7 separate regions of the Homo sapiens genome follow, and regions 1, 2, 3, 4, 6 and 7 are each linked to region 5. Evidence: promoter capture Hi-C in 16 types of primary human blood cells and fetal thymus (Javierre and others, 2016). All regions are on one chromosome and are shown on one strand. Each heading gives the region's core, a stretch centred on a gene start or on the middle of the fragment in contact. The rest is flanking DNA. Distances are from core to core; before and after follow the strand shown. Region 1 has its middle 2.4 kb from the start of MIR345. Region 2 has its middle 100 kb from the start of EVL. Region 3 overlaps WDR25 (WD repeat domain 25). Region 4 has its middle 65 kb from the start of EVL. Region 5 holds the start of DEGS2 (delta 4-desaturase, sphingolipid 2). Region 6 overlaps WARS1 (tryptophanyl-tRNA synthetase 1). Region 7 overlaps EML1 (EMAP like 1).

What was found. The method cuts DNA at HindIII sites, captures the fragments that hold promoters and counts their contacts. A CHiCAGO score of 5 or more calls a contact.
Region 1: a fragment that was not itself captured here is called in contact with the fragment with the promoter of DEGS2 in region 5 in 1 of 17 cell types (total B cells); the score reaches 5.1 in total B cells.
Region 2: a fragment that was not itself captured here is called in contact with the fragment with the promoter of DEGS2 in region 5 in 1 of 17 cell types (fetal thymus); the score reaches 5.5 in fetal thymus.
Region 3: a fragment that was not itself captured here is called in contact with the fragment with the promoter of DEGS2 in region 5 in 1 of 17 cell types (total B cells); the score reaches 5.3 in total B cells.
Region 4: a contact is called between a fragment that was not itself captured here and the fragment with the promoter of DEGS2 in region 5, in 9 of 17 cell types (total CD8 T cells, total B cells, activated CD4 T cells and 6 more). The highest score is 7.2, in total CD8 T cells.
Region 6: a contact is called between a fragment that was not itself captured here and the fragment with the promoter of DEGS2 in region 5, in 1 of 17 cell types (total B cells). The highest score is 5.4, in total B cells.
Region 7: a contact is called between a fragment that was not itself captured here and the fragment with the promoter of DEGS2 in region 5, in 1 of 17 cell types (endothelial precursors). The highest score is 5.2, in endothelial precursors.

What each region holds. Positions count from the first base shown.
Region 1 is chr14:100,308,384-100,312,216 of GRCh38, reverse strand. No RefSeq gene overlaps it. Among named protein-coding and RNA genes, the nearest start is that of MIR345, 2.4 kb to the right of the region's middle. The HindIII fragment of the contact is 155 bases long and covers 1,879-2,033 here.
Region 2 is chr14:99,962,378-99,966,182 of GRCh38, reverse strand. It overlaps the pseudogene VDAC3P1. Among named protein-coding and RNA genes, the nearest start is that of EVL, 100 kb to the left of the region's middle. The HindIII fragment of the contact is 917 bases long and covers 812-1,728 here.
Region 3 is chr14:100,384,978-100,389,071 of GRCh38, reverse strand. The region is part of intron 2 of WDR25 (WD repeat domain 25); the gene reads right to left. Among named protein-coding and RNA genes, the nearest start is that of WDR25, 11 kb to the right of the region's middle. The HindIII fragment of the contact is 1,585 bases long and covers 1,358-2,942 here.
Region 4 is chr14:99,998,057-100,002,235 of GRCh38, reverse strand. It overlaps a transcript of EVL not described here. Among named protein-coding and RNA genes, the nearest start is that of EVL, 65 kb to the left of the region's middle. The HindIII fragment of the contact is 5,752 bases long and covers 1-4,179 here.
Region 5 is chr14:100,157,698-100,161,478 of GRCh38, reverse strand. DEGS2 (delta 4-desaturase, sphingolipid 2) reads left to right here and starts at 1,834. Exons shown (of 3, transcript NM_206918.3): 1 at 1,834-1,973. The coding sequence starts at 1,892. LOC124903380 (a long non-coding RNA gene) reads right to left here and starts at 1,442. Exons shown (of 2, transcript XR_007064330.1): 1 at 1,348-1,442; 2 at 1-171. RefSeq lists silencers at 1,488-1,887, 1,988-2,047. The HindIII fragment of the contact is 5,862 bases long and covers 331-3,781 here.
Region 6 is chr14:100,357,584-100,361,572 of GRCh38, reverse strand. WARS1 (tryptophanyl-tRNA synthetase 1) reads left to right here. Exons shown (of 11, transcript NM_004184.4): 4 at 911-1,019. Among named protein-coding and RNA genes, the nearest start is that of WARS1, 16 kb to the left of the region's middle. The HindIII fragment of the contact is 2,546 bases long and covers 1-2,523 here.
Region 7 is chr14:99,917,136-99,921,124 of GRCh38, reverse strand. It overlaps EML1 (EMAP like 1), which reads right to left. Exons shown (of 22, transcript NM_004434.3): 16 at 3,276-3,343; 17 at 248-336. Among named protein-coding and RNA genes, the nearest start is that of EML1, 130 kb to the right of the region's middle. The HindIII fragment of the contact is 2,698 bases long and covers 469-3,166 here.

The DNA.
Region 1 (3,833 bases), core at 707-3,206, 150 kb before region 5:
GATTGTATATTCCATCTACTGAGATAGGGGAAAACCGCCTTAGGGCTGGAGGTGGGACATGCGGGCAGCAATACTGCTCTGTAAGGCATTGAGCTGTTTATGTGTATACATATCTAAAGCACAGCACTTAATTCTTTACTTTGTTCATGATGCAGAGACCTTTGTTCACGTGTTCACCTGCTGACCTTCTCTCCACTATTATCCTATGACCCTGACACATCCCCCTCTCCGAGAAACACCCAATAATGATCAATAAATACTAAGGGAACTCAGAGGCTGGCGGGATTCTCCGTATGCTGAACGCCGGTCCCTGGGCCCCCTTTTTTCTTTCTCTATACTTTGTCTCTGTGTCTCTTTCTTTTCCAAGTCTCTCGTTCCACCTAACGAGAAACACCCATAGGTGTGGAGGGGCAACCCACCCCTTCAAGTTGGATCTTCCTGAATCTATCCTTAGAGATGGTCTCAACCCACAGTTTCACAGCCACCTTAGAACCACTAAAGAGCCTGGTTTAAACGCAGCTTTTGTCTCTACCTGCTCCCTGGGGCTGACTTCTTAGGTCTGGGGCAGGGCCTCAAAATCTGCCTTCCTAGCTGTTTGCCAAGGTGGCGGCAACTCAGCCCCACAGGGACCCACTGGCCAATTCCAACCCCAGAGGTCTAGAGAGGGAAAACCTGTGGCCAAGGCCACACAGCAGGACAGAGCAGAGTCTGGGTCCTCTCACCAGGCTGGGCTCCAAGGCTGCCTGCTCGCCCCTTGCTCAGGTTGGGAGGAGGCAAAGCTGGTGGGGCACAGCGTGGCGACCTGCCCCCTGTGGTTCCAGCTATTCAAGAGGCTGAGGTGGGAGGATGGCTTGAGCCCAGGAGGTTGAGGCAGCAGTGAGCTGTGACTGCACCACTGTACTCTGGCTGGGCAACAGAGCGAGACCCTGTCTCTCTCTCTCTCTCTCACACACACACACACACACACACACACACACACACACACACACACGGCACCAATCCCATTCCCTCATAACCTAATCACCTCCCAAAGGCCCTGCTTCTAACACCATCACCTCCGGGGTTAAGACTTCAGCATATGAGGAACAAAACACACTGGGGCCTACCTAAGGGTGGAGGGGAGGAGAGAGAGGATCAGTGGGCATTAGGCTTAATACCTAGGTGACAAAATAATCTGCACAACACACCCCCATGACATGGGTTTACCTATACGACAACCCTGCACATGTACCCCTCAACTTAAAAGTTAAAAAAAAGGACTTCAACATATGAACTTTGGGGGGACACACACATTCAGACCATGGCAGGTCAGCCAAGCCCCTTCTGAAGAGGTAAGCATTGAGCAGGAACCCAAATCCTGTTTGTTTATTTATTTATTTATTTTGAGACAGAGTCTCCCTCTGTTGCCAGGCTGGAGGGCAGTGGCGTGATCTCGGCTCACTGCAACCTCTGACTCCCAGGTTCAAGCAATTCTCCTGCCTCAGCCTCCCAATTAGCTGGGATTACAGGCATGCACCACCACGCCCAGCTGATTTTTGTATTTTTTTTTTTTTTGAGATGGAGTCTTACTCTTGTCACCCAGGCTGGAGTGCAGTGGCAAGATCTCGGCTCACTGCAACCTCCGCCACCTGAGTTCAAGCGATTCTCCTGCCTCAGCCTCCCGAGTCGGTGGGATTACAGGTGCCTGCCACCGCGCCTAATTTTTTTGTATTTTTAGCAGAGACGGGGTTTCAGCATCTTGGCCAGGCTGGTCTTGAACTCCTGACCTCATGATCCACCCGCCTCGGCCTCCCAAAGTGCTGGGATTACAGGCGTGAGCCACCACGCCCAGCCAGAACCCAAGTTCTAGAGGTAACGACGCCAGGCCAGGCAGAAGCTTCCAACATGGCAAAACCCCATCTCTACTAAAAATACAGAAAATTGGCCAGGCATGGTGTCGGGTGCCTGTAATCCCAGGCTACTAGGCCCCTTCCCAAGGACCCCAGGGACTCAGAGGAGCTGCCAGTGCCAAGGCCCTGAGAGGGGCACAAGCTTAGAGGGTGGGCTCCAATAAGAGGGCCAGAGGGCATGAAAGGTGGGAGGTGAGGTTGTAGTCTGGTTACCCTGGGCCTCACACCATGGCACTGAGCTCGAGTATTCCAATATGAGACAGGAGGCGACTGACAGCGCGCCGGCCCCACCAATCTTTGGCCAGGAGTTTGCAACCTGCTCAGGTGGCTCCCATCCCGAGTCTACACCTGTGCTTGCTGCCAGAGCCCTTCTGTGCACTCTCCCCTGCACAGCCTAACTCCTGGGAAGGTCTACACAGCTGGTGCCTCATCCTCTCCCCCTCAACTTGCCCTCTGGCAGCCTGAGTTGCAGCCACCCCCCCCAAGTCCTGGCCCAAACAGCTCCTGCAGGGGGTCATTCAGCTCCAAGATTCCAGGGTGGGGACAGAGACTTGCGTTTCCTTTTTACTTTCTGGCGTTTCTGATTTCTCCACACTGAACCTGTCTTGTGTGAGAATAAAAGCTGTACACAGGGAAAACTCCAACACACCCTTTCCAGTGAGCTGGCTTGACCCTCGGTGCCCCGTGACAGTCCCTCCGGCCTTGCTGTCCTGTGCTGGCCTTGGGTCTGCCCTGCCCCTTAAAAGGCTGGGGTCCTCAGGGCTGCACAGAGCCCTGCCTCCTCTGGGATGGGAGGTCCAGGGCTCTGTGGAACATGGGAGTTTGAGAAAGCACATTCTGTGCTGTAACCTTATCCTCAGGAAATGAAATAAAACAATAGACACTGAACCCAAGTGTCCAAGATGTAGGCATACGGATTCATTTACTTGGCACCAACTTTTTCACTCCTCCTTTCTGGTCTCTCCTCAGCCCTGACATGGAGGTCAGGGATTTGTGTCTGTCTTGTCCCCAACACAGGGCACAGGGCAGTGCGCCGACTGAGTGCATGATTCCCAGGCAGCAGGGAAACAGGGTGCTCAGGAAGATGTGGTTTTGCAAAGTTTAGTAACCCAGCAGCACACCCGTGTGGACGCATCCCTTTCCAGTGCCTGTCCTCACCCCCTCCCCAATGTCCCCCACCCAGTGTCAACTGTGCAGGCCCTGGGCACACCAAGATGAAGGGGACAGACCTGGGACCTGCCCTCAGGGTACTTCCAGCTGAAGGCAGCCCCCTGTCACCCACAAGGGAGCTGAGGCTCCCTTGGCGGGTCAGGTCAGGCAAATCTGTCCCAGAGCCCAGTCCTCCACTGTCCCCCACATGTTGACCTTAGTCCCCAAATCCAACAGCCCTCCCCCGACCACACACACACACCCAGAACCCTGCCCTCTCCTTGCAAAGTGCACAGCTAAGGGCCCGCACTCCTCATCTCCCAGGCCTGGCACGATCCCACTGCTGCCCTCACACGGCCTGCCTCAGCTCTCTCAACAAAGGACCCTCCCTGCAAGGAGGTTTTTCTTTTTGAAATAGGGTCTTGCTCTGTCATCCAGGCTGGTGCACAATGGTTCGATCATAGCTCACTGCAGCCTTGACCTCCTGGGCTCAAGCGACCCTCCTGCCTCGGCCTCCTGAGTAGCTAGGACTACAGGCCTGCAGGCATGCGCCACCACATCCTGCCGATTTTTTTTTTTTTTAGAGATGGGGCCTCACTATGTTGCCCAGGCTGGCCTCAAACTCCTGGCTTCAAGCGATCCTCCTGCCTCAGCCTCCCAAAGTGCCTGGATTACAGGCATGAGCCACTGAACCCAGCCTCAAGGAGGTTTCTGAAGCTCAACTATGGAATACCTACTGTTTACCAGGCTACTAGGCCCCTTCCCAAGGACCCCAGGGACTGACAGCTCAGTGCA
Region 2 (3,805 bases), core at 21-2,520, 190 kb after region 5:
CACAGCGCTGCCTTAACACTGAGCAAATAGTTAAACCTAGGGCAATCGGTGCCCAGACATCAAAGCTACAAATAAAGCATACGGTCAGTAGAAGCCTTGCATGGGCTTCTCCCTAACCTGGAGCAAGTCAAAATAATAGAATCTAACATTCCTAGTGCCAGGACCTGCCTCGGGTCGACAAAATCTGAGACGAGTCAAGGTAACAGAGGCAGCTGTTTGAATAGATTCATCAGAGAGTCTAAGGCAGCACTCCAGACCAAGCTGTAAAGGAGATAAGATAGAAATAATCACTCTGGTACCACAGGAGACAGGCCTTGAAGGTACTGGGGCCCACACAGCTTAATCAGACTTAGCTTGTTTTTTTTTTTTTATGTTCCAAATGTGATGGGTTTATTTTATTTTACTCTGATGCAAAATCAAAGATTCCACAATAGCACAGAGACCAATATATTACAGAGTCATGAAAAAAATGGTGTGAACATGCAGGACACGAGGTACAAACTGGAGGTTCAGATCGTCTCCTCTAACATGACACCACACTGTCGCCGAGGAACACATTTAATAACACTGCAGAACTGAACCGAAACGTGGCACAAACAGGACAGCTTCCAGGCATGCTTTCCAGCGCCTCCCCTCAGGAGGGACTCACAACCCCTAGACTTCAGTGTGGGGAGGATTACAATTTTTTGGAAGAGTAAAAAGTTCACACTTTTGAAATTTCACAGAAGGATTGTAGGGCCAAAACATGGTGGGTTCATTTCTCTTCACTTCCAGGGACAAATCTGATGCTTTCCTCAAACCACATTAAGCTTGCAGTTCAAACGCCAAGCCAACCTTGTGACCTCCTGCACTGAAGTTGTTTCCATCGATTAAAGCTGATAAAGGGTCAATTTGACTCCGGGTCGAAGGGTCTGAGTATAACCCAGTCCAATCAGGCTGGCATTATTTACTTTAGCAGAGAGAGAAGTTCTACAATCCAGCTTGTACTTAGTAGCAATGCCAAAATGGGTGTTGTTACTCCAGCCGTCCAAGCAAGGTTTATTGACATTTCAATCCCATTAACCTTCTGGTAGATAGAACCTCCAAATTCAGTGCCATCGGTCACATGTGTGTGCAGCTGGAAGTCTGCAGCCTCGTAACCCAGGGCGAAATTATTCTGTGACAATTTGGATTTGGCTGTGTCAAAACTCATCTGATAGCCGGCAAGCCACCCTTCAAAGACCAACACAGCCCAGCCATAGATGGTTGGTCCGGAAAAATCTAGATCAACATTACTGCCAACACTAAAACAATCCCATTTATAGGAGGCCTTCAATTCCCCACTCTTCTTTCCTGTGTTTGGTACCAATATGGTATCAAGACTCAGTTTCAACCCTTTAGCCAACTTATTCTCCAAAGAGATTTCTGTCCCAAGAGTATTGTCTGTGTTCCGTTTTTGAGTGAAGGTAAGTCCATAGTTACAGACCTTACATTCGGGTTCTAGGTTGCCTGATGCTTTCCCTGTATCAGTGTAAGCATGACCAGAAGTAGAAAATTCCACTGCACTACAGGACTTGGTTTTCAGGTCTATCTTCCCCATGCCAAAGCCATATCCTTTGTTGAAGACATCCTCAGCAGCCTTTCCCAGGTCACAGTAAGTTGGTGTGTTACACATATCTTAGAAAAATCTTTCTCAGGTTCTTATGAAATCAAAGACCTCCACCCCCAAGGGCCTGTCTCCCACAAGCTTTTTTTTGCCTCTGACCTTCTAGTTGAAACAAAATTAGTTACCAATAGACTTAGGCGAATGTTGTGCTGCACGTAGGCACATAACTCCAACCTGTATAAGCAATTCTAACACTTTGAGTTGGTCTGGTGGAATTATCTCTGGCCTTCTGCCTGTATCCGGTTACAGCAATAAATTCCCTTTTTTTTTTTTTTTTTGGGACGGAGTCTCACTCTGTCGCCCAGGCTGGAGTGCAGTGGTGCAATCTCTGCTCGCTGCAACTCCGCCTCCAGAGTTCACGCCATTCTCCTGCCTCAGCCTCCCAAGTAGCTGGGACTACAGGCACCCGCCACCACGCTAGGCTAATTTTTTTTTTTTTTTTTTTTTTTTTTTTTGTATTTTTAGTAGAGACGTGGTTTCACCATGTTAGCCAGGATGGTCTCGATCTCCTGACCTGGTGATCCGCCCGCCTCGGCCTCCCAAAGTGCTGGGATTACAGGCATGAGCCACCGCACCTGGCCAATTCCCTTCTTCGCTAGTTTGTCTGCTTCTCATTATTGGGACTCAAGAAGAGGCAGCTGGACCTGACTTGCTTCCGGGAACACAACTACTTCCCTTGGCCTTTGACTTGAAGACAGCCATAGACCATATGTGAGTGGATGTCACTGTGTTCCAAGAGAACTTTAGTGACAAAAACAGGTAAAACCATTTTTATTTTCAGATGACATTATCTTACCTATAGAAATTCCTAAGGAACCCACTCAAAAACTATCAGAACTAATAAACAAGTTCTGCAAGGTCCAAGCATATAAGATAAACATATAAACATCAATTGTATTTCGATAGACTTGCTATGAAGAATCTGAAAATGAAGTTAAGAAAACAATTCTATTTACATGACATCAAAACAATAAAATACTTATGAATGAATTTAACAAAAAAAGTGTAAGACTTGTACACTGAAAACTATGAAACGACTCCGAAAGAAATTAAAGAAAACCTATAAACGGAAAGATATCCATTTATGGGTTGAAAGAGCTAATATTATTAAAATGGCAAGAGAGCCCAAATTGACCTACAGATTCGATGCAATTCCTGTCAAAATCCCAGCTGCTTCCACTTTTATTTTGTGCAGAAATTAGAAAGCTGATCCTAAAATTCATCTGGAAATGCAAGGGACCATAGAATAGCCAGAAGAGTCTTGAAAAAGAATAAGTACAGGTATATACATTGATGGAATAAAATAGACAGTCCAGGCAGGGAGTGGTGGCTCACACCTGTAATCCCAGCACTTTGGGAGGCTGAGGCAGGTGGATCACCTGAGGTCAGGAGTTCGAGACCAGCCTGGCCAACATGGTGAAACCCCATCTCTACCAAAAATACAAAAAATTAGCCGGGTGTGGTGGCATGCGCCTGTAGTCCCAGCTATTCGGGAGACTGAGGGCGGGAGAATCGCTTGAACCCAGGAGGCGGAGGTTGCAGTGAGTCAAGATCACGCCACTGCACTCTAGCCTGGGCCACAGAGCAAGACTCCATCTCAAAGAAAAAAAAATAGGATAGAGAGTTGAGAAATAAACCCTTAACTTTACAGTCAATTGATTATCAACAGGGGCGCCAAGTTAAAGAACAGGCTTTAATAAATGGTGTTGAAACAACTAGATACCCACATGCAAAAGACTAAAGTTGAAACCTTATTTACATCATTCATAAACTTTATCTCAAAATGGATCACAGACCTTCATATAAGAGCTAAAACTATAAAACTCTTAGAAGAAAACATACATGCAATCTTCATAACCTTGAGTTTGGCGGAGGCTTTTTAGATATGACACCAAAAGCAGAAGTGACCAAAGAAAAAATAAATAAATTGGACCACATTAGTATTAAACACTTTTGCTGCAAATGATACCATCTAGAAAGTGAAAAGACAACCCACAGAATGAGAGAAAATATTTGCAAATATCATATATCTGATAAGATCTGGTTTTGTCTGTTTACTGTTGCTATAAAGGAATACCTGAGGCTGGATAAATGTGGCTCACGACTCTGCTGGCTGGAAGACTGGGGACCTGGTGAGAGCCTCAGGCTGCTTGCATTCAT
Region 3 (4,094 bases), core at 901-3,400, 230 kb before region 5:
TAAGAGTCTACTGTCTCCGAGTTTTAAAAGCAACAAGAAATAATTTACTAGACTGTCTCGACTCCTAAGTGCGCCAATTTTGCAATCTGCATTTTTCAATTACATTAAAAGCATTTTTCCAAATTGCTCTATCCTTCCCTTAATGACATGGGATGAGAGTGAATGAGGCTTGCTTCTCGAGGACAGAGGCTGCACCTTCACACGGCTGTTTTCTTCCTGTCAGCTTCTGGCGAGCACAAGGCCCCGCCCTTGGTACACTGAACTGTTTAAGTTAAATGGAATGAAGTTATTAAAAAGCAGAAAACACAGCTTGGGTTCTGCTACACTTTCCTTTTCTTATTCCTCTTCAACCCAAGGTTTTTTCTGTAAGATACAAGATTGTAAGGCAACTGGAACTGGGAAATGTCTCATTTGTTGGCCTCAGAAATGTCGCGGCTTTCACATGGGGGAGGAGGAGTGTCAAAAAAACTTCACTTCCCACGAAGAGAAGATTCCAGCTCAGAATCTCATGGCTCTTCCCAGAGGCTCGGCAGCTCTGCTGCCAACCAGTCTAAAGCCCCACACTCCCAATCCTGGGGTAATTCAGATGATTCTGAAAGTCCTCTGGAAGGTGGGAAAGAAGAGAAGCAAATATAGTGTCCAGACTAGGAAGCATCCAAACACCTATTGTGTGTCCTCGGGCGTGTCTTCCCCTCTATGGGCCTCTATCAAATGAACCAGATGAACGCTATGCATGCACGCACATGCGCACACACACATCACCAATTCTCTCCTCACCTTCATCTAATTACCCTGGATGCACTGTTAATCATTCACTCCCCAAATACCAAAGGCCCACTACCACCACCCAAACCTCCTTCCCAGCTGCGCCTCTCATTGCCAATAGATTTGCCTCGTGCTTAGAATAAATTGCCAATCATCTGCATAATGCTCCACAACTCCTCACTCCACACATCAAATCATTTCTCAATCTCATTTTGTAAAATCCATCAAGAATAATTCTTTCAAAACTGAAATAAACCCTCACTCTGGCACTTAGAGCCATAAATCCCTTGTCTTTGAATGTGAAATAGATCACTTTCTACAAAGCACATCTAAGATATCTTAATGTAATCAGATTCACTAACAATGATAAATCAACAGGATCCTGTGATACATAAAAATGCAAATCCAAACCACCCCAGAAATCATCTCTTCTCTGTATGTCCCTTAACAGAACCACAAAATTTGGAAGCTGGGATAGAGCTTGGACACCACCTGGGTGAAGGGGATGCGCTTTTCCATCCCTTATTCTCAGAGGCAGGAGGGCAGCGTGAGTGGTGGTAGCTCTTTCTGCTCAGGCTCTGAGTCTGAAGCTTCCCTGCTTGCCTCTATCATTTACTAGCTGTGTGACCACGGACAAGTCTCTTGACCTCTCTGTGCCTCAATTTCCTCATCTGTAAAATGGGAATGAGGACAGAAGTGGCCTCTCAGGCCTGTAATGAAGAGGAGACGGAGCGTTTAGAACATGCCTAGTACATGGTAAGCACTCAGCAATGGCTAGCGCTCTCCATCCTCTCATCCATGCTTTAAATGTGACCACTTTGGGGACAGGGAACCAGCTCTCCAACACAGACCTGCCAAGTGTTCAGTACATGAAAAGGGAGTGCATGAATGGCTTGGCACAGACAATCCTCAAACTCTTTAGATTCTAAAAGTATTTATCTCAAGAACACTGAGATTGAAACGCTTTAAAAACGTGTGCATAGAGACAATGAAAAGATTCACAAAAAACAAGAGTTACAGTAAGTTGGAGGATTCTGGGTGATTTGTCTTTTCTACACTTTGTTTTATAACTAATCAAGACAGGTACAGGGGAATCAGAAACATGCTTCCTCAGCCTCTCCCTTGTCAGGCACTAGGCTGGATCTTCTCATTTCAGCTCTACAGCAACAACCTTAATTGGTGGCCATTTACCAATTATCCCCATTTTACCAGTGAGGAACTAGGGGATCAGAGAGGCTAAGTGATTTTCCCAAAGTCACACAGCTACCAAGCAGAAGATTTGGCATGGGAGCCAAGGAGTACAACAGTGGTACTGAAGGTTTGCCAATCTAATCAGGTCCCACTCTCACCACACACAAGGGCTTTAGCTAATGCCTGGGTGTAAATCAAAGCCCATCTTTTTCTTTTTTTTTCTGAGATGGAGTCTCGCTCTTTCACCCAGGCTGGAGTGCAGTGGTGCGATCTGGGCTCACTGCAAGCTCCGCCTCCTGGGTTCATGCCATTCTCCTGCCTCAGCCTCCCGAGCAGCTGGGACTACAGCCGCCCACCACCGCGCCCGGCTAATTTTTTGTATTTTTAGTAGAGACGGGGTTTCACCATGTTAGCCAAGATGGTCTCAATCTCCTGACCTCGTGATCCGCCTGCCTCGGCCTCCCAAAGTGCTGGGATTACAGGCATGAGCCACCGCGCCTGGCCTCAAAGCCCATCTTAACTGCATTAAGGCAGCAAAAAAAGACAATATTTATGTATAGCCATATTCACTGTAATACTGATTATTTTTTAAACAAAAGCAGGAAATTATAGGAAACAACATGGAAATGATGGAGCAAAGTATGAAACTTGAGACAGTTATAAAAATATATTTGGGGAAAAGTTTTTAATAAGGTAGAAAAATTCCCCTTACACGTTACAGAAGATTGGGCAGCAGAGGAAGAATTCAAAACTGCACATACTATGCAATAAGCCCAATTATGTAAACAGATAGGAATGTAGGGCCCCCGACCAGGGAGGCCCCTCATGTTAATGAGGCACTGACTTGGGGTTGGGAGTTATCAATGATTTCTGTTTCTCCTTCATACTTCATATTTCCTGCATCATTAAAGTTTTTCACAATAAGCATCTATTACATTCATGGTCAAAAATTAAAAGGTTTTTTTTCAAAGTATTTTAAGGAAGCTTGTTACTGAAAGAATTTCTAGAGCAAATTATTCTGTAAAGCAAATAAACAACATCTAATTCATATATTTTCTTTAAAAACCTTCTGTGTTTCAGAACTGCAGGTTTTCATACAGGTACAGAAGGTCCCTGGTGGGTCTTCTGTCACCCACCCAAAGGTCTTATTCCTTTGGGACTCCCTCTCAGTGCCTGGCAGAGGGTTCTGTACATGGGAGCATTCAATAACGGCTGGTTGTGTTTTTGGTTAACGCAGGCCACGTACATGTTTTCCTTCAAAAAAAGGCATCAAAGTCTGAATTTCTACCTTTACGTGCAGTGGGTGTTCAAACACGTTAAGCCAAAAGAGTTCACTGGGAGATGAAAAGAGTATATAAAAGGGTATCCGTGCTGGGATCACAGCTATGAAAAAAACAAGCACGTTCACAGACAAGGGGAGGAAGGGATCGTCAGGAAAGAGCAGCGGTGCAGAATTATGAGTCATTGTTTTATTTTACTTAATTTCTCTAGCTGTAAATTTTTCAAAACTAATAAAAGCATATTTTACAGCTCACAGAACATTTAGAACATATTAAAATAAGTATCTTTCCACTGTAATGTGTCCAGTTGAAATGTATGAATTCCGAAGCTACGTTTTAAGGATATGAAGGAACTGGCACTCCATGTTCTTTAGATTAATAAGTTGGACTGTGTTGTTTTTCTCCTGATCAGAAAGAAATCATTTTTCAGTAAATGTTACCTTGAATCAAGGATTCTTCCACATTCTAGAAGCTTGGATGAGCTGCTTATATTAAGTCTTACTGTGCACCCTAGTGGCGAATATGATTTATCCACTCAAAAGACAATCCCTTCCCAAAGGCTTGCGATAAAATCCAAAAAATTTGTTTTAATTTTTATCGATCACTTAACATGTACACAATTTTGTGCCAGATGCTGGGGAATATAAAAATGGGTTCTGGCTCAGGAAGCTTAAAGTCTAGTAGGTGAAGCTGATATGCTTCCATGGCTACTTACGTAAAATAAGACATGAGCACAAGTCAAGGAAAGGAGGAAATTCTTGGGGAAAAGCAGGAACTCGAGCACACACTAAGTGCCTGCTATGTGCCAGGCATTGCACTTGGTGATTCACAACTAATATCGTTTACTTTTCACAAAAA
Region 4 (4,179 bases), core at 846-3,345, 160 kb after region 5:
ATCAGGATGACGAAAAACTTTCAGGACTCATGGAGAGCGAAATGTTCATGGATATCAAGCAGAACAGGAATTAACTGCATGGACTGAACTAATAGTGGACTGAAGTTATCTTTTTGACTTTTTGCTTAAAACGTTGCTGATCCTTTGTTTTTTAGAGTCAAGGAAACTTTTCTTTTGAGCTATTGACAGAAACTAGGTATACTCCTATGAACAAAATTTGGAGGATATTTGTTTCTCTCTACTTGATTCCTCCAGAATTTGGAAACTATCTGTGAGTATTCTTAATGTATGGCAATATAGTTATTTGCATAAGTACAATAAAAGTTTGTTTTCATTTGTAACAGGCGAAACTGGTTATTTTACCAAGGCTTTGACTAGAATGGTATGCTTTCCTTTAAGGAATCAAACTTAACTTACAGAGCCAATAAAATCCCCTTGGGAAAACTAGCCTCATACCTTGTCTACACAGTCCCTGTACAGGGTTCCTGACCTGTGGTAAGTAAAGAATGTCACTTTCTGACAGGCCCAGGAGCCCCAGGTTATCATGGGACTTCAAGAGGAAGAAAAATTCACCTGACTCATAGTTATTTGATGGTACAAATCCACGGCTGGGCTTGTCTTTTAAAAAGCCTTATCTGAGACTCCTTCAATGGAACAAAGTTCCACCAAAGCCAATTTTAAAAGCCTATGTGAGAAATAATTACTCTCGCTGCACTTTATACAAATAATCTGTCCAAGTATAATAAAGCAAATCAGTCCTACCATGATTTGTCTTTAGTAAAAACGGGAAACTGGAGAGAGAGACGAATTCTATTTCAAAAACTATAACACACCTGTTGCTAGATTCTAGTCCTAATGTTTTCCAGTTTTTATTATTTTCTATAGTTTGGGCTGAATTCTAATTTTTCCTGGCTATAAGTTTCCAAAATAATGTTTTCAATTTTTTCTTTCTTTTCCTTTTCCTTCCGTTTTTTCCTAATTTGAAATCACTGAAAACTAAGCTGTGCTTCTTAAAGCCTTGCAAACTTAATCCAGACAACTAAACTTCAGAAGAAAATAACAGCAACCTATTTACATACATAAGCCACTTTCATACCTGCCTACTGATACATGGACTTCAGAGTAACGTGGCCTCTATCAATTTTCCAGGATTGTTGTTTTGTTTGTTGTTGTTTTTCTCCCTTCCTCCCCCTATTTTCTCTTCATAGGACATGAGACTTCTCAACCTGCTAAAATAATATTCCTAATATTATTCTATTAATATAATTCCTAATAACTCAGGACCTACCTGTCTAGGAATAAACCATCCTAGCCATGAGAGATCAGACAAAACCTGAGACCAGAGACTCATTTTCTTCTAAAATGCTTTCTCCAAAAATGCTTTCTCCAAGAGATTTTTAAAAAGAAAAGGGGGTAAATGTGAAAGAAAAATAAATCTTGGGGCCCCAAATTCACTAAGCAAAAGGGAAAAGTCAAACTGGGAACTGCTTAGGGTAAACCTGCCTACCATTCTATTCAAAGTCATCCCTCAGCTCACTGAGATAAATGCATACCTGATCGCCTCCTTTGGAAAGGCTCATCAGAAATGCAAAAGAATGCAACAGCTCATGCTTGTAATCCCAGCACTTTGGGAGGCCGAGGTGGGCGGATCACGAGGTCAGGAGATCGGGACCATTCTGGCTAAAACGGTGAAACCCCGTCTTTACTAAAAATACAAGAAATGAGCCGGGCATGATGGCACGCGCTTGTAGTCCCAGCTGCTCGGGAGGCTGAGGCAGGAGAATCGTTTGAACCCAGGAGGCGGAAGTTGCAGTGAGCAGAGATCGCGCCACTGCACTCCAGCCTGGGTGACAGAGCGAGACTCCGTCTCAAAAAAAAAAAAAAAAAAAAAAAAAGAATGCAACAGTTTGTCTCTTATCTACCTATGACCTGGAAGCTCCATCCTTGCTTGAGTTGTCCTGCCTTTCTGGACAAAATCAATGTACATCTTACATTTATTGACTGATGTCTCATGTCTCCCTAAAATGTATAAAACCAAGTTGTGCCCTGACCACCTTGGGCACACGTTGTCAGGACCTCCTGAGGGTGTGTGATGGACACGTGTCCTCAACCTTGGCAAAACAAACTTTCTAAATTAACTGAGACCTATCTCAGATATTCGGGGTTCACACTTCCTATTCCATTCCAATACTGGTGGACTAGCTGTAGATCAATGTTTCTGGTGAAATAACCAAAAATGCCAGGTAACACAGTTAAGCAAGCAAACAAAAAGCACTTCTAAAGGCTTCAAATGGCTGTGAAGACAGTAAAGAATTACTAGGCAAAAACTAAAGAGAAAAACAGGGGTTCCCCAAAAGACAAATGAGCACAGAGCCCCTTTTGCCCTGAGGGCATCTGTTGATCCCAGAAAACACAAACTTTTGTGCTGATGGCCTCACAGGGGAAGAGAGTGACCCCCCACCACAGTATGCCCTCTTCATAGTAAGCTCCAGGGGTCCACAGACATCTCTCTGCAGAAGCAATCCATGGCGCCTCAAAGGAAGAATTCCTACCACCACCCATAAATAAAGGCTGACATGTTTTATTTTAATTTTTTAAAAAGTGTTAGAGACAGGGTCTTGTGTTGCTCAGGCTGGTCTCTAATTCCTGGCCTCAGGTGATCCTCCTGCCTCAGCCTTCTGAATAGCTGTGATTATAGACAGGAGCCACCACATTTAGCTAAAAGTTAAAGTGCTGTTTATTGAGTACTTATTATGTCCCAGGCACTGCTCTACATTCTTTATATGTGTCAGCGGATTTAATCCTGAGGGAATGGCAAAGAGATCTTGTTATTTTTCCCATTTGATAAATGAGGAACCTGAGGGACAGAGAGGTAAAGTAATTTGCTCATGATCACATAGTTCAAAAGTGGCAGAGCTGATCACACTCAAATTCAGGCTGCCTGACTCCAGAATCTGTACTCTTAATCACTACAGAATAAGTTAAAACCAAAAGGGCACAAATATATTTATTCCTATGTGACTTCAAATAGCAAAAAACTAAATATCCATTGGCAAGGGACTGGTCAAATAATGTATGGTAGACACAACAGAGTACCAGTCACTAGAAATATAGCCCTTCACTAACTGCATGAACATTACTACTGTTGAATAAAAACATTATAGAAAATTATTATAAATTTATAAATTACTATAATTTATAAATTATAAAGTATAATAAACATTTCCACAAATCAAATAAAAAAGCAAATATAAAAGTATAGACAGTATATTCTCACTTATGCACCATCATAATATTATACACCACATAGTGTAATAGCATGGTCTTGAGATTCAGAGACCATTACTGGACCTTGGACAATTTACTTCATTATTCTAAACACCAATTTCCTCCTGAGCAAAATGGGGCAACATTATGTATCTTGGAGGGTTTTTTGTGAGAATCAAATGATATAATGCATATAAAGTTGCTCATCCTAGAACCATACATAAACGCTAGTAAACACAGTTATTCCATTATTATTATGCTTTTATCTGTATATATGTTTGTATAAAAAAAATTTGGAATCATGTTAGCCAAAATGCTAACTACTACTAATTTCCAAGGCATGTCAGATGATTTATTCTTTATTTTTGTACTTTTCTGTATTGCAAAATTTGTAGAATGAGCAAGTATGATTTTTACAAAACTAGTAACTTTTATAGATGCAGACATGTATATATATGTGTGTGTGTATGTATCTCCTCCCAGCATACAGATAACAATGCTTGTACAAAATAAATACTCCTCTATTCTGACAGCATTAAAGTGATAAGACAATATCTCAAATTAGAGATCCATGGGAAGGAGAAAGAACAAGCTGAGGAGAGTCAGATCTTAGACCCGGAACACCACTATGCATATAATAAATATTTTGTTGTGCGGAGTGCAGGGGCTCATGTCTGTAATCCCAGCACTTTGGGAGGCTGGGGTGGGAGGATCACTGGAGCCGCGTTTGAGACTACACTGGGCAACACAGTAAGTCCATGGTTCTACAAATAATAAAAAAATTAGCTAGGCATAGTGGCGCAGATCTGTGTTCCCAGCTGCTTGGGAGACTGAGGTGGGAGAATTATTTGAGCCCAGGTGGTGAAAGCTACAGTGAGCCATGATCACACCACAGCACTCCAGCCCGGGTAA
Region 5 (3,781 bases), core at 585-3,084:
GCTCCTGGCTCGTCAACACCGTGAAGCTGGGTTTCTGGCTCCCCAGGGACTTGGGGAGCACTTGGCAAGGGCATCAGACTTGATTTCATGCATCCTGGGTGTCTGTTCCACTCCCAGGTCTTCTTCAGCATGTCCTCTGACTTGTCCCCTCTCTGGCCTCAGTTTCCTCATCTGGAAAATGAGGGCCTTGGTGAGTTTCCTCTGGATAGGCGGTGGCCTGGGGCAGAGGGAACTGGCAGGCTTGGTGTTGTCCTGAGGGTGGAGCTGGGGCTCAGGGCGGCAGATCTCACGGAGTTCAACACAGGGGCGAAGGCTCTGATTTTGGAAGCTTTTTAATTCAAAGGTCAGGGGCCAAAGTCATGCCCCAGCCTTGCTGTTAATTCCTCTGTGCCTCAGGCAAGGCGCTCCTCATCTCTGGGCCTCAGTCTCCTGATCTGTAAAGTGATGGCTGGTGGGATGACTTCTGAGGACCCTTCTGGCTGGGAACAGAGCAGGCTGCCCTGGGAGCAATGAGTCTTCTCCCAAGGGTGCAAGCTGGGCCGGGAGGCCTCCTGGGTGTGGCAAGGGGTGATGGCCATGGTGGCATGTGGGTCCCCCTGCTGATGGAAAATCTGGCCTCTGTGTCCACCTTTCCCATGGCTAATTCAGGGGATGGTGGCTGGCGGCTGCAGGACACCCATGCCTTCCTTCCTGGCTCACTCAGGACTGCCTTTGGCCCTGAGCTAAGGAAGGCCTGCCAAGTGTACCAAACCCCGGGCCATGGACTTCCATGGGACGCACAGAAGCACGCCCTCACTATGTGCGAGCCTGTGGCAGCGCTGGCTGATGTGTCAGTCAGCTCCCAGGCAACTGCCAGCCGAGGCCAGGCTCTGGCCCACAGGCACAGCAGGTCCACCCTCCAAAACTCCAAGGGAGTGGGAGAAGGAACAGAGGCATCACTGAGAGGGTGAAGATGAGGGGCCCTGTGCCCTTACCTCCCCAAAACTAGACTTTCCATTTGAGAACATTCAGGTTCTGCCTTGTTTCCAAGCGTTTGCATCTGCTGTTCCCCCTAGCACCAATGCCTTTCCCTTTTCTAGCTGTTGAACTCCTACCCACCCCTCAAGGCCCAATGCAAAAGTTCCTTCTATTGGATCCTAGCTGCTTCAGGGCCTACCTGTGTCATGGCACGTATCACCCTGAATCATAACAGCCACTTCTGTACCTGTGTCCCCATCCAGAACTCAAGTTCCCTGAAGGCAGGAGTGGGTCTGACTCATCCCTGTGAGGTTGCTGCAGACGCATTATCTCCCCTTTGCATTATTGGTGAAAGGGCCGGGTGGAGGAAGGGAGGATTGCTGCACCAACCTTTCCTCGGCGCCTGTTTACTGGCACCGTCGCATCCATTCCACGCCGATCCTCCGCAGTCCCCCTATCCTGCCAGCCGCTCCTCCTTGGGGCAGGGGCGGCGCGAGCCACAGGGGCGTGCCCGCGAGCGGGTCGGGGCTGCGGAGAGAACGGGCCGGGGTAAAAACCCGACGGCTGCCCGCGGGTGGGCGGGGCGCGCAGAGCCGGTGGGAGGCCGCGGTGGCAGCAGTCGCCCCCGCGCATCGAGGGACCCAGGGACTCGCGCAGATGGCACGCGGCCACCTCGGTCCTGCCGGGGAGCCCCATTTCCAACCGAGGCAACTGAGGTTCCCAAAGCGCCAGCTACCCGCCGGGGTCTGGAGAGCGCCGGGGCCCGGCCGCCCCGCCCAGCCAGAGGTGCCCCGCCCCAAGCCTGGCGCACCTGGCCCCGCCCCGCCGGGACCCCGCCCCCGCCCTAATCAGAGCTGGTTCCGCGCCGCGGCCGCCGCGACAGGTGCAGCAGAGCCGAGCCGGCCGCGCTCCGAACGGCGCCTCCCGCCCCACCATGGGCAACAGCGCGAGCCGCAGCGACTTCGAGTGGGTCTACACCGACCAGCCGCACACGCAGCGGCGCAAGGAGATACTGGGTGAGCGCCGCGCGGGGCCCACCCCGGTGGGGACCGCCCCGTTGGCCCGTCTGGAGTCGCGTCGTGGGGTCGAGCCCAGACGGGCCGCTCCAGCTCTGGCCCAAATTCCAGTGGGCGTTCCGCCATTGCCGCTCCCCTCCCTGGGGTCCCCGGCCGGCTCCCCGAGGGTCCCCCACCCTGGCCGGGTCTGAAACTCCCTGGGACCTGAGGATTCCGAGGACCCCAGTACGGGTCCGAGCGCCAGGGAGCGCGTCCCAGCTGTTCCTCGCGAGCCACTCCCGGGGCCAGGGCCGGGGCTCTGGGATGCTGGGACGCGAGGGCGCAGGGGCGGCCCCGGGACGCGCTACGAGGCGCACGCGCTCCCTGGCGCGGAGGCAGCTTGCGCGACGCGGGGCCTCCACCCGCAGTCACTGGGCGCCTGCTGCGCTCAGAGCCCCTGGGTCTCGCGGCCACGGGCGCCCCAGGCTGGAGTTCAGGGCGGATGAGCGCCGGGAAGGGAGCAAACGCGAATGAGAGGCGCGCGTGTTTTCTTTGAAAAAAGCAAAGATTGTACTAAAGAATCCTTCTATTCTGGCATGTCGCTTATTACGTGGTGGCTGTTTTCCTTGTTGCTTCGTGTCCTCTGCGAGGAGGGCATCTTTACCCACTCGGAGTCACTCTCGTTCATGCCAGAGGCCCCATCCCACCCACAAGCAAGGTGGCCCCGGTGAGTCGTCCTTGGCCCGGGCTTACGGGGTTAAAGGGCCTGCGTCTGGAGAGTGGCTTTTGCCAGATGCCACCAAATCGCCACAGGCTGAGACAGGCCCGCCCCTCCCGCCCTGCCTAAGTCAGCACCGCGCGTTGCCACACTTTGTAATCTTCAGTCAGATTGGGGAAACAATACCATTTCACTGTGGCTTTAATTTGCACTTATTTGATGGAGGTTTCACATTTTAATCGGGCGTTTTATTTAATTTAATTAATTTATTTATTTAGAGACAGAGTCTCGCGATCTCGGCTCACTGCGACCCCCGCCTCCCAGGTTCAAGCGATTCTCCTGCCTCAGCCTTCTGAGTAGCTGGGATTACAGGCACCTGCCACCACACCCGGCTAATTTTTGTATTTGTAGTGAGATGGAGTTTCACCATGTTGGCTAGGCGCGATCTTAGCTCACTGCAACCTCTCCCCACTGGGCTCAACTGATCCTCCTACCTCAGCCTCCTGAGTAGTTGAGACTGCAGGTGTGTACCACTATGCCCGGCTATTTTTTTTGTATTTTTACTAGAAACAGGGTCTTGCCATGTTGCCCAGGCTGGTCTCAAACTTCCGAGCTCGAGGGATCCACCCATCTCAGCCTCCCAAAGTGTTGGGACTACAGGCATGGGCCATGAGCCACCACGCCTGGCCTGAACAACTTTTTTTTTTTTTTTTTTTTTTTTTGAGAGGAAGTCTTGCTCTGTCGCCCAGACCGGAGTGCAGTGATGCGATCTCCACTCACCGCAACCTCCGCCTCCCAGGTTCAAGCGATTCTCCTGCCTCAGCCTTCTGAGTAGCTGGGATTACAGGCACCCGCCACCACACCCGGCTAATTTTGTATTTGTAGTAGAGATGGGGTTTCACCATGTTGGCTAGGCTGGTCTCAAACTCCTGACCTCAGGTGATTCACCCGCCTCTGCCTCCCAAACTGTTGGGATTACAGGTGTGAGCCACTGCGCCCAGCCAACTTTTTCTTTCTTCCTCTTTTTTTAATCCCATGGCAGCATACTGAGATACCATGACTTTTAAATGTTTGAAACCCAAGATACATTGGGTGGCTAGCCTGTGACTGC
Region 6 (3,989 bases), core at 1-2,500, 200 kb before region 5:
CTAAAATCTTTTGGTTGTGCATTATATTCCCAAAGGATTATTTTAAAATAAAATAACAATATAAAATATATTTCAAAATAATGATCTATAGTAGACAGCTTAATAGAAGGTTTTCCCTTTTTTTGAGCACTTCAGAACTTGGGAAAGGTCTATTGAAATGGCCATTTATAACATTTAGTGGCTACAAGTCAATCATAGATTACTTAGGTTTCACCTCCAGTGATACTGACTATGGACCTAGAAGGCTGGAAGTCAGCTTAAGAGCAGTGACTTCTCACATCGGGCAAGTTCTTACTGTCATGCCCTTCCTTGAGGGCCTTCCTGCTCAGGAAAGACTGTTGCCATTCCATTGAAGTCTTTACTCTGAGATCATTGCTAATTATCAGAGAAGAAACAGAACTGAAATGTTTTCATCTAAGTCAAAGCCATTTTCCATGATTTCAGTATAGACTATCAATGAGGGAAAATTCACTTGAAGACCGACATTAATTCAGTTCAACAAATAAAGAATGTGAGAAATCATGGTTGTCAATGAATATAAATTTTACCTTAATAAACAAATATATATATATATACCTATTTATATATGTATATGTTTATATTTTGTTGTCAAAAGTTGCTAGCTGGACTGCATTCTGAATATGTTTCCCATCAGAACCCAGTCTCAGGCAAAACAGCATTTTGTGTTGTAATTTATTTCCTGTTTTGTTGGTTGTGTTGATCTCAGCTGTTGTTTTAATCCAAAGACCTTTTACTTCATGTTGGGGGTAAGGACCTTTAGCAGAAGGCCTAAAGAGGTTTGTGTTCATTAAGATTGTGCATGGATCACTCACTTTTCATCTTCATTTCAGTAATATCTGATCACTAAACCTCCTGCCACCTAAGAAAGTCATCTTTTCTTTTTTTCCAGTTCGGTTTGGAAGTAGTAAAATTGACAAAGAGCTAATAAACCGAATAGAGAGAGCCACCGGCCAAAGACCACACCACTTCCTGCGCAGAGGCATCTTCTTCTCACACAGGTCAGGGGCTCTTCACCACAGGCCTTCTCACCTGTCCTCTTCTTTTAGTTCAAAAAAATCGTAAGACACTCTCTTCATAAGCCACCTGGTACTGTGGGAAAAGTGATGGCCAGCTGTGGTAAGACTGAGATCCATCCTCTGTCCTGTCAGTAACCCACTGTGGGATCATGCTTGTCCATCACCCTCAGGCTCTTAGTTTTTTCATTTGTAGACTGCCCACCTCACAAGGTGGGAATCATATTAATAGCAGGTGAGATTCTTCCCAGATTACAGGCTGTAAAGAAATTATAAAATGTCATGAAAACAAAAGAGAATAATATGTCCAAGATCAGCATTTCCCACATGACAAACAGTAGGCTTCCTGAAATTCCAAACCCTCTTCCTCCTATTGTATTGACTTGCTCATAAACAATACCAACAGACAAACCAACAGAGAATGCATGGAACAGATTATCTGTACCTTAGGCCGTAAATTCCACGCAGATAACGTCAAGATATGGGCAGGTTCCAAAAGAGTTTCTGCCTCTCCCAACCTACAGTTATCTGGGCTGAGGCAGCCCCCTTTTTGAAGCTGTGTCCATGGAATTTATGATCTGATGTAGGGTTGTTCTGTTCTACTGGCACTTCACGCTTACAGGAGAACAACCCCAGGACAGAGCCCAGCAGTCTGCCCAAACACTTCAAATTCTACCTGCAAAGAACTCCAGGCCTTGCTCAACCCACTTTCTGGGTGGAATATAATAAAAAATTTTCCTTAATTCACATACTATAAAACTTATTTTTTTAAATGTACAGTTAAGTGGGTTTTAGTATATTCACAAGGTTGTGAGACCATCAAGACTATCTAATTCCAAAACATTTCATCACCCCAAAAGGAAACTTCTACCCATTAACCCATTTATGCCAGAAGTTGTAAAAATTTTTTGTGAAAAATCAGACCTTGGCAATCACCTTGAGCAGTAAGATATCAATAACTCCCACAAGTTTAGCATTCCAATTTTGGAACAGTAGGTAGGCATAAATGGGTTAACAGTCATCCCCCATTTCTCCCTCCCCACTGGCAACCATTAGTCTGCTTTCTCTATATCTAGATTTAGGCATTTTATATAAATGGGATCATGTAACATGTGGCCTTTTGTGTCTGGCTTCTTTTACTTGGCATAACATTTTCAAGGTTCCTCCATGTTGTAGCATGTATCCATACTGGATTCCTTTTTATTGCCAAATAATATTCCATTGAATGGATATACCTCACATTTTGTTTATTCATTCATTAGTTGATGGACGTTTGAGTTATTTTCACTTTTTGGTTATCAACAATGCTGCTCTGACCATTTGTATACAAGTTTTTGGGTGGATATATGTTTTCAATTCTCTTGGGCATATACCTCGAAATAGAATTAATGGCTTATATAGTAATTCCATGTTTAACTCTTTGAGGAACTGACAGACTTTTCTACAGCAACTGTATCATTTTACTTTCCCACCAGCAACATAGGAAGCTTCCCATTTCTCCACATCTTCACCCACTCTTGTTATTTTCCATGTTGTTGTGTTTTATAGCCATCCTAATAGGTGTGAAGTAGTATTTCATTGTGGTTTTGATTGTATTTCCCTAATGACAAGGATGTTGAGAATCTTTTCATGTGCTTATTAACAATTTTTATATCTTTAGAGAAATGTCTATTCAGATCCTTTGCCTACTTTTTAATTGGGTTGTCTTTTTATTGTTAGTTATAATAGTTCTTTCTATATTCTGGATACTAGTTTCTTATTCAAATATTACTTGCAAATATTTGCTCCCATTATATAGGTTGTCTCTTCACTCTACTGATAGTCCTTTGAAGTATGAAAGTTTTTAATTTTGATGAAGTCCAGTTTATTTTATCTTTGATTGATTGTGTTTTTGGTGTCATATCTGAGAAACCACTGACTAATCGAAGGTTGTGAAGATTTACACCTATGGTTTCTTCTCAGAGTTTTGTGGTTTTAGCTCTTACATTTCAGTTTCTGATCCTTTTTGAGTTAATTTTTGTATATTTGTGAGGTACAGCTCCAACTTCATTCTTTTGCTTGTGGGTATCCAATTGTCCCAGCACTGTTTTTTGAAAAGACTATTCTTGGCTGGGCGCAGTGGCTCATGTCTGTAATCCCAGCACTTTGGGAGGCCAAGGCAGGCGGATCACGAGGTCAGGAGATTGAGACCATCCTGGCTAACACGGTGAAACCCCATCTCTACTAAAAATACAAAAAATTAGCCAGGTGTGGTGATGGGCGCCTGTAGTCCCAGCTACTCGGGAGGCTGAGGCAGGAGAATGGCATGAACCCGGGAGGCGGAGCTTGCAGTGAGCCGAGATCGCGCCACTGCACTCCAGCCTGGGTGGCAGTGAGACTCCGTCTCAAAAAAAAATAAGAAAATGTGAGTACTCAAACATGGTTCTTTTTCAAGATTGTTTAGGTATTCTGGGCCCCTTGCATTTCCATATGAATTTCAGCTTTTCCATTTCTGCAAAAGCAGCAGCTAGGATTTTGATAGGGATTGCACTGAATCTGTAGATTCATTTGTGGAGTATTGCCATCTTAAAATATTAATTCATCTAATCCATGAACATGGGATGTCTTTTCACTTCTTTGATTTCTTTCATTGATGTTTTGTAATTTTCAGTGTATAGGTTTTGCACTTCTTTGCTTAGATTTATTCATTAGAATTTTATCTTTTTAATGCTATTCTAAATGGCATTTTCTTAATCTCATTTTGATTGTTCATTGCTACTATATAGAAATACAACTGATGGCCGGGCACGGTGGCTTACACCTGTAATCCCAACACTTTGGGAGGCCGAGGCGGGTGGATCACTTGAGGTCAGGAGTTCGAGACCAGCCTGACCAACATGGTGAAACCACATCTCTACTAAAAATACAAAATTGGGCAGGCATGGTGGTGGGCGCCTGTAATCCCAGCTACCCAAG
Region 7 (3,989 bases), core at 568-3,067, 240 kb after region 5:
GGACACACTGGGCGGGGAACAAGACACACTGGGGCCTGTTGGAGGGGGGCGAGGGGGAGGGAGAGCATCAGGAACAACAGCTAATGGGTGCTGGGCTTAATACGTGGGTGATGGGTTGATCTGTGCGTTAAACCACCATGGCACACGTTTACCTATGTAACAAACCGACACATCCTGCACATGGACTCCAGAACTTAAAATAAAAGTTGATTAAAAAAATAAAGTAGTGAATGGTTTGGAGTCTAACCTGGTGAGTATCGCATTACAGAGAGCTGTTCGTTTCCATCTGTGTGAACGGTGACCAAGTCTTTTGTTTCTGTGTCAAACACAAACCACCTGTTATCAACATGAGAAAAAGCACAGTAAGTTGTTTAATAAGAAAATGAAGATTATATAATAGTGGGATGAATAAAAATTGTTAATCATAAAAGCTTAATAAATACTCAGAATTTGCTTAATAAGAAAGCTTGTTCCCAGCTTTCATTCAAAGAAAATTTCCTATATATAAGCATTTTCTAATGAAAGGAACAGCATATTGGCTAGCATTCAAAACTATGCCATTATCAACACTATGACATGGTTTCTCTGTGTTTGTGCTTTGTCATTTACACATGGAGAGAAAGCTCTGGGCAGGGAAGATGCCAATACCTAGTGCCAGGGCATATGGTGAGAGGAAGCAGTGAAGGACCACCTGCAAGAGCTCACCCAGGTTTCCAGGGCGAAGCAGGACCATGCAGGAGGATGGGGCTGGGACAACTCCGGGGTGGTGGTGTTCCCAATGGTGCTGCAGACAGAGCAGGCCAAGAGTACAGGCCTTATGGGGATGCTAGCCTGCAACCAACAGGGCGAGGGAAAGCACAGAGCAAATGGGAGAAATTGGAGTGGAGGACTGGTCTTCTAATTTCACCTCGCTGGGCCATTTCCTCAGTGGTGAGATGGGGAGAAGAGCCCAGGTCTACTCTGCAGGCTCAATATTAAAGTCGAATGATAATGGACATGGAAGTGCTTTGTATCCTCTGATAAGCACACAGTACCCACTAAATGAGTGTTAACATCAGAATGACTGAACTCTCCTGCCTGTTATATTCTCAAGGGGTGGTGGTGAGCCCCTGGTGTTTTCAGGATAAATGGATAAATGGATAAGGATAAATGGATAAACTGTTGCTGCAGTTTCTAACCTGCCTGAGGACATCCCATCAGCATGTCCACTGACGCAGAGTGAGTGTCCCTTGTCTTCCACAGGAGCCCCCCTAGCCAGGCACTGTCAGATGTCCTGCCCCCCAGAAATGTGGATTTTGCTTTTCAGTGCCAATTTCTTGCATCTTCAACAACCATTTACCTTTAATGTGCTATTTAACCTTAATAAAGGCTGGGGCTGATTAGAACATGGCTTTGAAGTGACCTGTTAAATCAACAGCATCGGGAGCTAAGCCTAACCTAGGACCTGAATGGCAAGAGGTACAGATGAGGGGCTGGATTAGGTGACCCGATCCATCTCCTCCACCATGGGACACTGTGATTCTGAGCACTGTCACCGTGTCCTACACACACAGTAGGCATGCTGGCATCCGTCAGCCTATTGGGAGGCCAGTCATCAGAAGGTGGGAGCCTGATGAGTTAGAAGGTTTACCTGTCTCAAAGAGAGTCAAATGGGAGGTGGAGTGTGTGTGTGTGTGTGTGTGTGTGTGTGTGTGTGTGTCTGTGTGCATGCGTATGTGTGTGTGTGGCTATACAAACGTTTTCATGAAGAATTCTGTTGGCTACATGGAGCCCAATACTTAAGATATTGCTACCTATGACCTGCAAAGGGCTACACTTTCTTTATCCATATAGGCTCTGCAGTCATAGCAACAGAATTTAAGTGCTACGCTTTTTTAGAGAGGAAGGGTGGGAGGAAAAATATTTGACTGAAACCACAGTAAATGTATACAGTACAATGAGCAGCATAAATGTTCAATCAAAACCTGGAAAGCAATGATAATAATAACCCCTGCAGTGCCTGATGGGCAGCCCTGGCAGGTGCTGTGTGCACTGTCTCCTTCGATCCTCAGTGCAACACAGCCAGGCAGGGAATATCACAATTTACAGAAAAAGAAACAAATTCAGAGAGCTTATGTAACCGGCTCAAAGACACTGCTGCTAAGTGGCAAAGCTGAGCTGCAAACGCAGACCCACCATCCGGTGTGTAGGAGGTGCCAGGTGAATAGGTATTAACTCAATTGGAATATGAGGCTCAGGGTCTGGGCAGTTCCTGAAATTTTGAAAGGGCAGCTAGAAAAAGCATTTATTTTCTATTTTTAATTTTTTTTAGAGATGGGGTCTCGCTGTGTGGCTTAGGCGAGGGTACAGTGGTGCAATCATAGTGCGATGCAGCCTCGAACTCCTGATCTTAAGAGATCCCCCTGCCTTAGCCTCCTGAGTAGCTAATACAGATGTGGACCACCATATCCAGCTCAATTTTAAATTTTTTATAGAGATAGGGTCTTGCTGTGTTGCCCAGGCTGGTCTCGAACTCCTAGCCTCAAACGATCTTCCTGCCTAGGCCTCTCAAAGGGTTGGGATTACAAGTGTGAGCCACTGTGACCAGGAGTAGAAAAAGCATTTTTAAATGCTCAGCACTTTGAAATGTTTTCTTGCTTCATTCCAAAATCAAGGCTTCTCCCACAGCCTCAAGATCAGGGCTTGAGAAGCTCCACAAATCCTCGAGATTGTAGGCAAAATGTGTGTGTGGCTGGGTGTGGTGCCTCATGCCTGTGATCTCAGCACTTTGGGAGACCGAGGTGGGAGGACTGCTTGAGCTAGAGCTCAAGACCAGCCTGGGCAACACAGTGAGACCTGCGTCTCTACAAAAGATAAAATATTAGTTGAGCATGGCAGTGCATGCCTGTAGTCCCAGCTACTTGGGAGGCTGAGGTGGGAGGATCACTTAAGCCCTGGAGGCTGCAGTAAGCTGTGATTGTGCCACTGCACTTCAGTCTGGGTGACAAGGAGAGACCTGTCTCAAAAAACAAACAAAAAAAGTGTGTGTGTGTCTAGTGGAGGTAGAGGGTCCTTTTCCAGGAGAGAGGGTCTATGGCTTTCCTCAGATTCCCCAAGGCTCAAAATGTAATGGGCCACTGTTTCAAGTTTCGCTTTTAACTTAATTCTTGGTAAGTCATTAGAAGCTTCGAACATGTAGCCAAGAGCTGAACGGGGGCCTGTTCCTGGGGAAATAGAAACAACAGGCCTCTTTTCCATAAGCTTTGCAAGCACAAGCGCTGTTGGCATGGACTTACCTCCCAGTGAGTGTTCCGACTGCAACCACAGACCCTGAAGGATGAAAACCAGAAGACTGAGCTGGATCCTAAAATATTTTAAAGGAAGTGTAAATTGATGAACAGATAGAACACTATAGCATAAAACACACACACGTGAGTGCGTGCACACACAAACGCTCACACTTCTAATTCCTTAGGGCTATATGGCTCTATTTGAAAAGTCTCTTTTCTAGAGAAAAATGTTTTCCTGCTTGAATGAATGCTGCGTTTCAATAATGCTAAATTTCTACCTACCCCCACCCTTTTTTGAGGCAGGATCTCACTCTATTGCACAGGCTGGAGTACAATGGCATGATCATGACTTATTGCAGCACAAGTGACACTCCTGGCTCAGCCTCTGAAGCAGCTGGGACTACAGGTGTGTGTCACCACACCTGGCTAATTTTTTAATTTTTAATTTTGTAGAGATGGAGTCTCCCTATGCTGCCCAGGCTGGTCTCGAATTCCTGGGCTCAAGTGATCCTCCTGTCTCTGCCTCCCAAAGTGCTGGGATTATAGGTGTAAGCCATTGAGCCTGACTTAAATTTCTGTCCTTTTAGGATTTTTCCCTTTTTGTCTTACATCCTCTCATTTCTACAGTAATCTGATGAAAGACAGGTAAATGCCCTTCTACAAAGTCACAGCTTATAGAACCCAGCCCCTTCAGTTGACTCCCCGTGCTGAGTGGTAAGC